Linked DNA regions of Homo sapiens: all the other regions are linked to region 2. The links are contacts of gene promoters, found by promoter capture Hi-C in blood cells and fetal thymus (Javierre and others, 2016). All regions are on one chromosome and are shown on one strand. The core of a region is centred on a gene start or on the middle of the fragment in contact, and the rest is flanking DNA. Distances in the headings are between cores, read along the strand shown. Region 1 overlaps PARVA (parvin alpha). Region 2 holds the start of TEAD1 (TEA domain transcription factor 1). Region 3 has its middle 14 kb from the start of PARVA. Region 4 has its middle 84 kb from the start of PARVA.

Region 1 (3,076 bases), core at 228-2,727, 260 kb after region 2:
CTTGTATGCCCAAAGACAAATGCCTGGCACAGGCAGACGCCTGCATCCCAATGCCTGGCACAGAGTTGGCACCCAATGCACAAGAGCTATTGTTATTATTACTCTTAATAACACAACAAAAAAACAAAACAGTGGATGTTACTGACCAGAGCAATTTCTAATTCCAGCTTCATTATTTCAGATTAACTCAGCTGTTTTCCCCTCTTCTTATAGAATTCAAAAGAAAAGCCCTGAGATTTTGGCTCCAACTTCTCAGTGATACTTTTGGCCTTAGGAATATCTATTAAGAGTTTGCGATCCAAGGAGAACTATTAACACTGGCGTGGAAAGGGAAATTAGGAAGTCTGAATGAAGTAAAGGTCTGCTTGCGCATATAACAAGACCATTTTTCCTGCAAATATTATTTTCTTGGCTCTCAGGATCTTTTGTCCCTTTCTCTGTAGGCTGGGACCTCTGGGGCAAAGGACAGTGAGGGGCCCACACATGTTTAAAGAACAGGCTGGTACATCCTGTCCTTGCTACAGAGCCTGGCACATCAGTAGCAAAACAGACCTCTCTTTTGACACACTTTCTTTGAGGATTCTGCCAGACCCAGGCTTGCTGCTGAAGCCACCACTGAGCCTTCCTCTCGGCCTGGGCTGGTGAACTGCATCCCGGAGCCCCCTGGTGGTCCTTTCCATACTCACACCTCATTCCCACACCCTCTGGGGCAGGGAGAAAACGGCCTTAAAAGACCCACCCAAGGGTTAATCTCTGGTATCCATCATCCACTGGGGCACCCCATTTTCTTAGGATGAAGGCAACATGCTCTGTGTTAAAGATGGTATAGAAATGGCACCTTTCTCTAACATCAAGAGTCATTCATTAAGCATCTCTTAAGCACCTACTGTGTGCCAGGCTCACGCTGGACATGAGGAATAGAGGATTATGACTCAGCTCCTGCTCTTAAGAAGCTTCCAGTGTACAGGAAGAGGCAGACATGAGAGCTGAGAAAGACAATAGAGAGATGTGCCCAGGGAACCCTAGGGACAGTGTCAGTCTCTGTAAGGAAAGTGGGAATTGCATCAGGGAGGAAGGATAAGTTAAACTGGATCTTAGAGTCTTTGCATAGAGATTAGAAAGAAACTAGGCAGGCAGAGAAAGGAGGGAAGGCATTCCTGGGGGATGAGTCGATATGCCTCAATGCCCGGACCTATTAGGGGAATGCTGAGAAGCTGGGGGTGCCTGCAGCAGGAAGGAGTGATAAAGCAGGCTGGTGATGTGGGCAGGGCTTGGAGTGAGAAGACCTCGTAGGTCACACCAGGGAGTGTAGACTTGATCTTCTCCAGTGATTTTTCAAACCATGTTTTTAGACTCCCCATAAACATCTGATTCTAATTTCATGGATGCTGAGACCAAGGGAAAACTGGAGTGGTCATCCATAATCTGCTAACTTTACATTTCTGTGTTCAATTCCGTCTAACCATGAGAAGAATATCAGATAAATTCTAGTAGAGGGGCATCCTACAAAACACCTGACCAGTACTCCTAAAAAGTGCCGAGGCCATCAAAAACAAGGAAAGTAAAAAAGCTATTATAGCCAAGAGGAACCTAGGGAGGCGTGACAACCTAATGTACTATGGTACCTTCCCTGGTGGAACCCTGGAACAGAAAAAGAAATCTATTAGGGAAAAACTAAGGAGTTTTGAATAAAGTATGAACTTTAGTTGATGATTATGTATTAACATTGGTTCATTAATTATAATAAATGTACCATACCAATGTACAATGTTGGCAATAGGGGAACTGGGTACAGGGCCTATGGGAACTCTCTGCACTATCCCACAATTTCTTGTAAATCTAAAACTGTTCTATTAGGTTGGTGCAAAGGTAATTGTGGTTTTTACCATTAAGATGGCAAAGATCGCAATTACCTTTGCAGCAACCTAATAAAAAGTGAAATCTGTTTTTAAAAATCCTTTGTTCATCCAAACAGCCAAATTATTGTCACTGATAAGCTTTATAACTGTTATAAGTTAGAACTTAGAAAATTAACTTGTGCTCTAGTAACATTAGCTAACATTTATTTGGTAGCTATACCAGGCCAGGTACTCTGCTAAGTACCATACTTGATCTCCACAACAGCCTCATGAACTAGGGATCGTCAGTATCACACCCCCATTTTACAGCTGAGAAAAGTGAGGTACGGCGAGGTTAGACAGCTTGCCTGAGGTTATACAGGTAAGTGGCAGAGCCTGCATTTGGACCCAGGTCTGTCTGATGCCAGAGTCCAGATGCTTAATGATGAACATTCCATGCGATACTTTATTGAAAAAGAAGGGTCCACATAACTTTCATTTATTTCTTTCTTTTTAACACTGAAAGCCATAGCTATAGATGGGGTGGGGAGAAGAAGGGATCCTCAGTAGTTTTCCACTGGAGGAGGAACTAGGTCAGAGTTTGGTTTGGGAATGAACATTCTGGCAGCTACAGTGTGAAAGATGGGCTGGCGTAGGCACTGGGCTCCTGCTGCTGAGATTTTCTAGTGATGTCTCCAAAAGGAGGAGGAGAAGCAACGAGAGAGAATGAACTTCCCTAAAAGGATAAAGCAAAAGCCCTCGTATAGCAATCCTTCGGATCTAGACCCAACCAATCAAACCACAGGCATTGCTGAGCCCCTGAATGTATGCCTGGCACAGGCCTGTCTCCACAGACAGGAGCCGACAGTAAAGAGAAAATAACCGCAGCCCAAGAGATGGAGCAGCTGGCCCGGAGTCCCTGCCGGGGGGAAAGGCAGACCTTGGAGGGAATGCTTCCTGTGGCCTGGGGTAGGCAGGGGTGTTCCTGGAGGAGGCCTGTGGGCTGAGCCCTGAAGATGAGGAAAGGGCAGATAGGACTTCAAGCAGAGCCCAGGCCAGCACAAGGCAAACCTGATCCCTGCCCTGCAGTCCCGGGGGCCTGGGTGGCCCAGCCCGGAGATGCCTAGGGCTGAGAGCCTAATCCCTTACCATGAGCTCTGTAGTCTCTCCTGCCCTCCTGGATCAATTAAAAGTGGGAGTCACTTCACCAGTGTACTTGAGAGGCTACTATGTGCCAC
Region 2 (2,785 bases), core at 97-2,596:
TTGCTTTGATTTTTTAAAAATACAAAAGTTATTTTTTTAAAAAGAAGAAAAGTCACAGAAGTTAAACTTTCTTTAAAGCGGGACTCTGGACTTTTGAAAACAAGTGTTGCTGTTACGAACAAAGACTAGAAGTGTACCCAGATTTTCTCCCCCCCGGGGATCATTTCTCTTCCAATCAACAAACAAATCCCCCAGTATTTCCTACCGAAAGGGAAGGGAAGTTTTCCAGGGAGAGTCTCCTCCTGGGTTTGGTGGTAACTGCGACTCAGTCTTTTTTGGACACAATGTTTCTGCTGACTCCTGAAAATTTTCCACTTGAATGTGCAATGAAGCGGCGGCGGCAGCGGCAGCAACAGTCCTGGAGAAGCGGCAAAGACGACCGTGCCCTTTTTCATCTTTGAGAAGAAGGAGCGAACCCCCCGCCAGCGGCACAAGTCTGCGCAGACCCGGGCCGGCCTCGGGGGTACCCGGCGCCGGGGGGCGGCGGCGAAAGCAGGGGGGTGCAGGCCGGCTCCGGGCTCCGAGGCGGCGGCTCTGCCCGCCCGCGCTCGCTCCGAACTTCTGGCTCCCCAGCGCACCCCGTCCAAGGCGCCCGAGGGTGTGTGCGTGTGTGCGCGTGCAGGCGGCGGGAGAGGGGGCGCGCGGGGGGCGCGGCGCGGCCGGCCGGGGGCCGCCTGTTGCCGCGCGGGCTCCCAGCGCGCGGCCCAACTTGGCGTCCTGGCAAGTCGCGCGGCGGCGCCCGGCCGCTCACCTCGGAGGGGGCGCGGGGAGGCGGGTGTGGGGGCCCGGCCGCGGCCCTCCGCGTGCCCGCCCGCCGTCGCACACAAAGCAGAGCCCGCAAAGAAAGAGCGGCCCGCGAGGGACGCGCCGCCGGCCCCCCGCTGCCCCGTGCGCCCCCCGCACCCCAGCATCCGCCCCGCGCGCCAACTTACCTCGGCCCAGGGAGCCACCGCAGCGCCCGGCGAGTCCGAGGCAAACTTCGGCGCCGCTTCCCCCGCCCTCTGCTCGGTGCCCGGCTCCCTCCCCGGCTCCCGGTCCCTGGGCCCGGCCACCCCACCCCTGCCTAGCACCGCTCCTGCCCCGGGGCCGGCTGGCGCGCTGGGCTGCTGCCCGCGCTCCGGGCAAAGGTGGAGGGGTGGGGGGGCGTCACTGCATGGCCTGTGCCTGGACGCGGCCGCCCCGGGCCCGGGCCCCGCCGCGCGGAATGGCCCGCAGGGTGGAAGCGAGTCTGCAAAGTGCTTGGTGGGCGCCCGCGGCGGGCGGCGGGGCCGCGGCGGCGGCAGCAGAGGCTCGGCTCGGCTCAGGCGGCGCGGCGCGGCGCGAGCGATGCTAAGAATGTTCGGAATGAGGACAGGAATGAAATGAACGCCAGGACCGAACTCGCTCCGGAGGGGTGGGGCCTCGGTGACGTCATGCGGCCTGCCGCCCGGGGCTGGAGGCGGGGCCTGCCGCCGCCGGTGACGTCATGGGGAATCGGGGCGGACCGGCGCGGCTGCTTCGCCGTTGGGGCGCGGGCTTTCGGCAGCTGGGCGGAGTCTCGCGCCCACGGGGGAGCGTGGCTCGCGCGGGAGCCGCCCTCCGTCTCCCGGCGCGGGCTCCGGGCTTTGTCCCGAGCCGGGGCGGGGCGGGGCGGGGCGGACGGGAGCTGCGCGGCTTGGAAGTCCCTGCGCTCGCGCGAAGAACTCTGGAAGCCTGGGTTTCTTCCAGGGGGCAGGCGCCGAGGCGGGAGTTGCGCGCGACGCGCCTACCGTGCCTCAGTTTCCCTAGTCCGGGACGCGGAAGCGCGGGTGACTGCGTTGAGTGCTCCCGGACTCGCGGAAGTCTGCAAGTGTAGGGTAGAGAAGTTGCCTTTCTGGTGATGCAGATTGTTGCTCTCGAGCGCGGTGGACGCCGTCTCCGGGCCAGATTCCCAGCCTGCCATTTCTTCTCTTCCCTTTCACTTTTATAAAAGTTCACAGCTCTCACTCAAGTCGAAATCTGTCTTACGGTTGGGAAAGGAAAACCTTTAGCTTAGCAAAGAAGGATAATTACAGAGTTCGTAATAAACCTGCCCTGCTAGCAAGGTCTTCTCCAAGTCAGTTAAAAAACTAAGTTCACTCATCTCTGCCGGTTGTACTTTTCAAAAGTAACTTCCTAAACTTTGAAATGCTGCATCCGGCGACTTTAAGTTAGCCCTTTCATTATTGAGAAACTTCATTTCATTATTAAAGGAATCATTTTAACCCTGCCATTGGAGGTAGTGACGCAAAAGTGACATAGACGCAGTCGGTAAATCAGAAAACGGGTAAAATCGACCCACTGGGGACAGAACCGTCTAAAGTTTCGGGTGATTGTTATAATTATTTAACAAACTGCAAAGCAGTTCCCGCACAGTGGACCTCATTCGTTCTAGGCACTTGGCTCTCTTTTCCAGCTGAGGCCTCAGGATTAAATAACAACATATTTTGTGCCCGAGGAATCCCTATATCCCTATATATGGGTAACTGAGGAGACTAGACTGTGACTGAGTGCAACACATTTCTACAAAACATAACTTTTACTAATACATTGTTTTCCTTTTTTTTAATTTTTTTTTTATTTTATTTTTGGAGACAGGATCTTGCTCTGTCACCTAGGCTAGAATGCAATGGTGCGATCTGGGCTCGCTGCAGCCTCGACTCCCTGGAATCAAGCCATCCTCCCTTTTCAGCCTCCCGAATAGCTGGAACTACAGGCACGCACCACCACGCCTAGCTAATTTCTAAAATTTTTTTGTAGAGATGCAGTTTCACCATGCTGCCCAGGC
Region 3 (2,745 bases), core at 33-2,532, 310 kb after region 2:
AACTATAAGTACCAAGATAATGGAACGAAAATTGGAGTCTAGGTGCTCCATTCAGATTTCATAAATTACATGTGATCTGTATCTGTCATATAGAAGGAAGCTTTTCTTTTGTATTCTGTTATCTATTTATTTTACTGGGTTGCTTTTTATTGAATAGCTTAAAAACCCAGGATAGAGGTAAACCAATCATATCAAAGCAAATTAAGGCAAAATTCAAGCCCAAAGTGGCTTTCACTAGGAAAAGATATTCTTCCTAAATGTGAAGGCCATCTGTTATGGGTTGAATTTTGTCCCCTAAAAAAGATACGTTGAAGGTGTAACACCCAGTACTTCAGAATGGGATCCTGGAAGTAGGGTCATTGCCAATGTAATTAGTTGCTAAAAATTGTATTTAGGTCATACTGGAATATGGTGGGCACCTAATCCAATGAGACTTGTATCTTTATGGGAAGAAGAAAATTTGGACACAGATATGCACAGAGGGAATGTGATGCAAAGATACAGGAAGAAGATGGCCATTGGAGTGATGCAGCCACATGCCAAGGGATGCCTGGGACTTCCAGAAGGTGGAGGAGGCGACAAAGAATCCTCCCCTAGAGTCTCAGAGGGAACATGGCTCAGCAGACACCTTAACTTTGGATTTCTAGCCTCCAGGACTGGGAGATAATAAATTTCTGCTGTTTTAAACCTGCTGTACTTTGTAACAGCAGCCCTAGGAGACTCTCACTCTTCCAGATCACACTGACCTCGGAAAGCATTGGGGAGAGGAAAATCAAGAACTTGGTGTCATCTCAGTGGCCTGGGACATGAACCACATACCATCTAAGGGACAAAATGGCATCCCCTGCAGATCAAGATGAGGGTTTTACAAAAGCTCTGGATCCCAACCAATAGTCAGAGTTATTTGACTGCAGCAAAGCAGGAGGGGGAAGAGAGAAGCCAGCCAGAGCCTCTTGAGGATCTCTTTGATCACTGCAAGCAAGATGTGCTCTTAGGATGAAAGGAATGCGTGAGAAATGAAATGTCTGTGGAGTGGGGGTCTTAAGGGACAAGCCTCATTGCATGTCCCCCTTGGGAACTCTGGAATATTAGTGGTGGCCTTTGAAGGTCAGCCTGCCGGTGAGCATGTCCTCCAGGAATTCTACCTGTCTGGGTGAAGGCTGTCCAGGTGGCAGGGATGGAGTGGGAGAATAGGAATTCTCTTGGTGGGCAGGGAAGTCACAGGACAGGAGGAAGTTGGACAACCTCAGCCTTAGTTGGTAACATGGTAGACTGAGGGCAGGGCTGTTTTTGAGGACCACACAGGATGATGCCACTCAAATCGCCTCTGATTCAGCCATGGGGGAATGAGTCCAAAGTTCTTTGAGACAGATGACCTGCTCACCTACCCTTCAGGGGTAATAATGAACTACAGACAGTGGTGGAGAGATTTTCTCACCTCAGCATGATAGCTGAGGGCCAGCTGCAGAAGTGAAGCCCTAAAATCAGTAGTTCCTCCTTGGGTAATCAAACAGAGGAATGAATAACACACAGGTAAACAAGAGCACAGCAATGCTTTTAAGGGCAGAAAGCAGCAGGTGTGAGCCAATGCAGACTCAGCCAGGCAAGGGGGAATACCTGGGGCCCCAGTGATTGTACTGGTGTGTGGTCCATGTCCCAGGCCACTGAGATTATACCCATGGTCTTGATTTTCCTCTCCCCAATTCTTTCCTAGGTCAGTGTGATCTGGAGGAGTGAGAGACCCCGCTTCCATCTTTCTTGGGGGGAGATATTATAGCTATTCATACGTTGGATGTTTCCTCTTAGGGAGGAAGGTTAGAAGTATTATGTCTAACAATGAAATGGAACCAAATCACCAAGGCCAGATGTTGTCTGCTGGAAACACTAAAGGGTATACTTGAAGGAGTATTGGCCAAAGAGCTGTGCAAGGGGCTGGACATCTGGTCAGCAGAGGGCAGTCCAAAGAGATGGTCCCCAAAGAGATTCCACGAGCACTCTAGTGAGTCAGATGAAATCAGAGAGGTGACAGAGTTCTGGGGAGTGAGTTTCCTGGCCTAGTTCACCTGGTAGGTGAGAAGAGCTGAGTTCACAGTAGCTGTTACCATTATCAGGGTCAGAGGGGCTGGGGGAAGGGTGCTGTGATGTTTGGTTTTGCTTTCTTTTATTTCTAAGTGAACTGGGAGAGGGAGTGAGCATGAAATTAGAAAGTGTGCCCTGAAGGCTCAGAGACGGTGAGTTGCAGCAATGGCTGAGAGTCTGCAGCTCTGTGAGTATGAGGATGTCAGCTGAGCCCCAAGGAAAAACTTGCAAAGTGCCATCAGAGGTGGCTGTTGCTTGGAGCTCTTCACTCCCCACATTAGTGCTGGTAAAACAGGAGCTCTCATCTGCAGTTATGTATATTTGTTGTTGATGCTCAATGGAAAAATAAATCCTTTCAAATATTTGATCAGCAGACAAAAGCTTTCAAACAAATGGGGCACCTTCGTGTGGAATGATGGGAGCTCCTGGGACTCATGGGTTGATTACTGTGATGTGGCAATTCTGGTGTACCCTGCACTCATAGTTTAAGAATATGCATGTGCTGGGGTTAAGAAAAGAGGTAATAAGAACAAACTAAAAGAATGTGACTTGAAGGAAGAGGCTAGATCTGCGCAGAAGGAAACGTTCCTGTTGAGCGAATTAAATACAAAACCAGGTGAGAGAAAGGTGAGAGAAAGGGAGGGGCTGGGACTACCATAAGCCTCA
Region 4 (3,135 bases), core at 222-2,721, 380 kb after region 2:
TGAGAAGCAAAACGAAGTGAAAGATGCCTGCTTGTCGATGCAATGAAGATTACTAACTGCCCAGCATGAAGGGCAGACATTTATCAGGACAGAGCCACTTACCTGCACCTCCCGCTGTAGGAGGAGGAGGAGGAGGAGGAGGAGGAGGAGGAGGAGGAGGAGCTGCCTGGCGCAGGGAGGTGCTTTTGAAAGGCTGCAGCAGCTTCTCCAGGGCCTGCGCACTATCTTCAGGCAGCACCTTCCTCTTGGGGCTGCCAAAGAGGTCCCTGATGTCCTTTCTTTGTCTGGATTCTTGGAGGAAACTCTCAAAAGATTTGTCTTTGAGTCTGAGGGAGGAAAAAAGTGAGATTCTTTTCTTTGGAGGCTTAGAAGCATCTGGGAAGTTCTCTTGCAAACTCACTTTCTCGAGGAGTGTGGGGACATCTTCAATCTTGCTGCAGGGTGGGGACCTAAGTGCAGGAAAGACCTTGGATGGCCGATTGGGCAAACTGTGGGTGCGGAGGGCAGGGTCAGGAGGGCTAAAGGCTGAGGACTGGTTTCTCCCAGGGGAATGCTGGTCCCCGTCTTTATTGGAATTGGTTTTCCGAAGGCTGAATGAGCGAGTGCAGGCCTGTGCGGGCAAAGTTTTGGATTCTTGCTTGGCCCAGGCCTTCTTCCCGCCTTCAGAGTTGGAAAGGAGGGGCTCTAGAGACCTTCGGATGGCATTGGCTATGAGCCGCAGTGGGGACTTGGGTGGAGGCACGTTTCGCTCCCCTTGAGCTTGTTCCGCAGGGGTCCCCATCTTCTCCTGGGCCCCTCTCTGGGTTGGCAGGGGCTCTCCTGCTGCCCTAGGGAGCAGCAGGGGGCGGACTGGTTTTAGCACACGGCCTCCTCTACCATTCTCAGCACTTTTCTGGGAAATTCGCTCCCCAGCTTTGAGGTGCACACTCTCAGGGATGGAGTCATTCCAATCCAACAACATGGTCTTCTGCTCCTGAGTGAGGACTAACTTCTTCAGGCCCAACTTCTCCTTTACCAGCACTGGCCCTCCCTCTTCTTCCTTCCTGGCTCCAGTACTCCCTTTTTCCCGGTCTTCTCCAGCCAAGGGAGATAGCTCTTGCCCTGTCCAGCTCCTGTCCTTCCCCCAGATGGGGTGTGGGTCTCTGTGGTTGCTTCCGATGTCCCCAAGAGGGGCCTCTGCTGGCTGGCACTCATCAGAAGTCATCTCTGCAGGGTCTGAGAGGCCATCTTCACCAGGGCTCACCAGGCAGTACTCTGCCCACTCTGGCTTTGGGTGATGAGGCAGATACAGGGGAATTTCCCTGGGTGCTCCTTGGGCTACGGCTCGCCTCCGAAAGTTTGGGGTGGGAGGACTTGGATGACCTCTCGAGACTTGCGAGAGGGGCTCAGAAGCTGTCATCTAGATGGGATGGGCAAAAATAGCAGTTATTTAAAAATTTTCATCATTTATTTATATGATGAAAGCAAATCTCAATCTACAACCCCCTCCCTGTTTTTTCTTCCCATCTCAGATGCCCAAATTAAAAAATAATTTTGCCTAAGATGATTTTAAAGGGATACTCTTTGTTCTAAGTAGCTGCCTTGGGTCCTGCCAGGATCTGCCTGGAACCCCCGAATCAGTACTGACGAAAGGCTTTTCTGAATCCCAGATTAGCTGGGTTGGAAGCCAGGGGGAAGGCAAAGGTAGGACACTGCTGTTGATAAGCTCCCGGGCCCATGATGGTAGGACTGGCTGGGCCTCTGTGGGTGGCCAGGCACATAGGGGAAGATAAGCTCTTCATTTTCTTGCTCAGCCATTGTCTGTACTAAAAGGCATGATCCACCCATAGGTATGTTCCTCCAACAACCAAGAAACCAAGGCTTCTTCCTTGGAGGCCATCAAAGTAAGAAGCGACAGTCACTCTCTGGGCTGAAGCTGTGGTGGCACAAGGATGGCCCTTAAGACCTTTCAATGACCCTTTTTAACCTCCCACATTGCACCACTGAGAAAGGAGCTATTTCTAGCATGCAGGAACTTGGCCCTTGGCAAAGAGGGAACATGAGTGGACTCTAGGGGTGGCTGTGCCCTCCCAAGACCTCTGGTGCCTGAAGGGCAGGTCATAGCACAGGGGCTTCACCAGAGCACCCATCTTTTCTGTCTTGTGCATTCTACTTTCCAGAGTCTAGAACAGGCCTGGCAGGTAACAGAGGCTTGATAAATACATACAGAAGGAAAGAGTCCAGCCTGCATACCAATGATGACATTTTATATTCAAGGGAGATGTTGCTTCCAAGGTTCTTGGACCCTACCAAAGGGACCCTCACTTCTGTGCCTGCCATCCTACAGCTGCAAATTCCTCAATGCCCTTTGCAAGTTCTCAAGGGAAAGGTGTCCTAGCAGCTCTGTATCTCATGGAGACCTGGCATGGAGTCTAAACCCTGTAAAGTTTGCTGAGGGAATGACTGTGTCCTCAGGGATGGCTGTGAAGGAACAGCAGGAGCTTTTGTGAAAGGTATACATGAAGGCAGCTGGGGTAGACCCTTGACAGAGTATCTTCTGGCGCTGGCTTTGCACTTAGGTTGACCTATGAGCACGTGGAATCCAGAGATAAGTGTGGAAGGTGGGAAGAGTACAGGTAGGTTAGCTTCCTGACACCTGGGCAGGACCCTCAGGGACACTCACCTGAGGCGGGGAGGAACCATCTGGAGCATTCCCAGAAACACTGGTTGAAGAAGAAGATGGTGGGGAAGATGAATGGGAAGACGATGAAGGAAGAGGAAGAGAAGGAGAAGGGTCCTTAGGAGGTGACATAGTTCTTTTGTTCACTGGCGTCAAACCTACCAAGGAAAGAACACACTCTTCATTACAAAGGTGTTATTATTTTATCAAGAAAAGAGGAGGCTTTAAGTGAAGCTCCAATTCTATAAACAGTCAGAAAGAGGAAGATGTCAGAGCCTGACTCAGAGGTTCCTGGTGCCCAAGGCGTGGGACTCAGAGGAATGGGTAGAGCAGTGGCAGGGTCCCGTGGGGCAAAGGAAGTCCCAGGGTGAGAAGTCTAATAACCATTGTGTTTCAGACTCATGCGATGATGCTCTTGAGAGGTGTATCAGGGCATTTCCAGAACATTTCTTAGAAATGCTCATCTGCCTCCAAAG

Evidence for each region. Contacts are between HindIII fragments. The CHiCAGO score rates a contact against its expected background, and 5 or more counts as called.
Region 1: a contact is called between a fragment that was not itself captured here and the fragment with the promoter of TEAD1 in region 2, in 1 of 17 cell types (endothelial precursors). The highest score is 7.1, in endothelial precursors.
Region 3: a fragment that was not itself captured here is called in contact with the fragment with the promoter of TEAD1 in region 2 in 1 of 17 cell types (endothelial precursors); the score reaches 5.1 in endothelial precursors.
Region 4: a contact is called between a fragment that was not itself captured here and the fragment with the promoter of TEAD1 in region 2, in 1 of 17 cell types (endothelial precursors). The highest score is 5.3, in endothelial precursors.

What each region holds. Positions count from the first base shown.
Region 1 is chr11:12,410,058-12,413,133 of GRCh38, reverse strand. The region is part of intron 1 of PARVA (parvin alpha); the gene reads right to left. Among named protein-coding and RNA genes, the nearest start is that of PARVA, 34 kb to the right of the region's middle. The HindIII fragment of the contact is 1,044 bases long and covers 956-1,999 here.
Region 2 is chr11:12,672,982-12,675,766 of GRCh38, reverse strand. It overlaps TEAD1 (TEA domain transcription factor 1), which reads right to left and starts at 1,346. Exons shown (of 13, transcript NM_021961.6): 1 at 933-1,346; 2 at 206-358. RefSeq lists an enhancer at 1-519 and a silencer at 1,355-1,654. The HindIII fragment of the contact is 11,683 bases long and covers 1-2,785 here.
Region 3 is chr11:12,362,404-12,365,148 of GRCh38, reverse strand. No RefSeq gene overlaps it. Among named protein-coding and RNA genes, the nearest start is that of PARVA, 14 kb to the left of the region's middle. The HindIII fragment of the contact is 2,360 bases long and covers 103-2,462 here.
Region 4 is chr11:12,291,825-12,294,959 of GRCh38, reverse strand. It overlaps a transcript of MICAL2 not described here. Among named protein-coding and RNA genes, the nearest start is that of PARVA, 84 kb to the left of the region's middle. The HindIII fragment of the contact is 5,552 bases long and covers 1-3,135 here.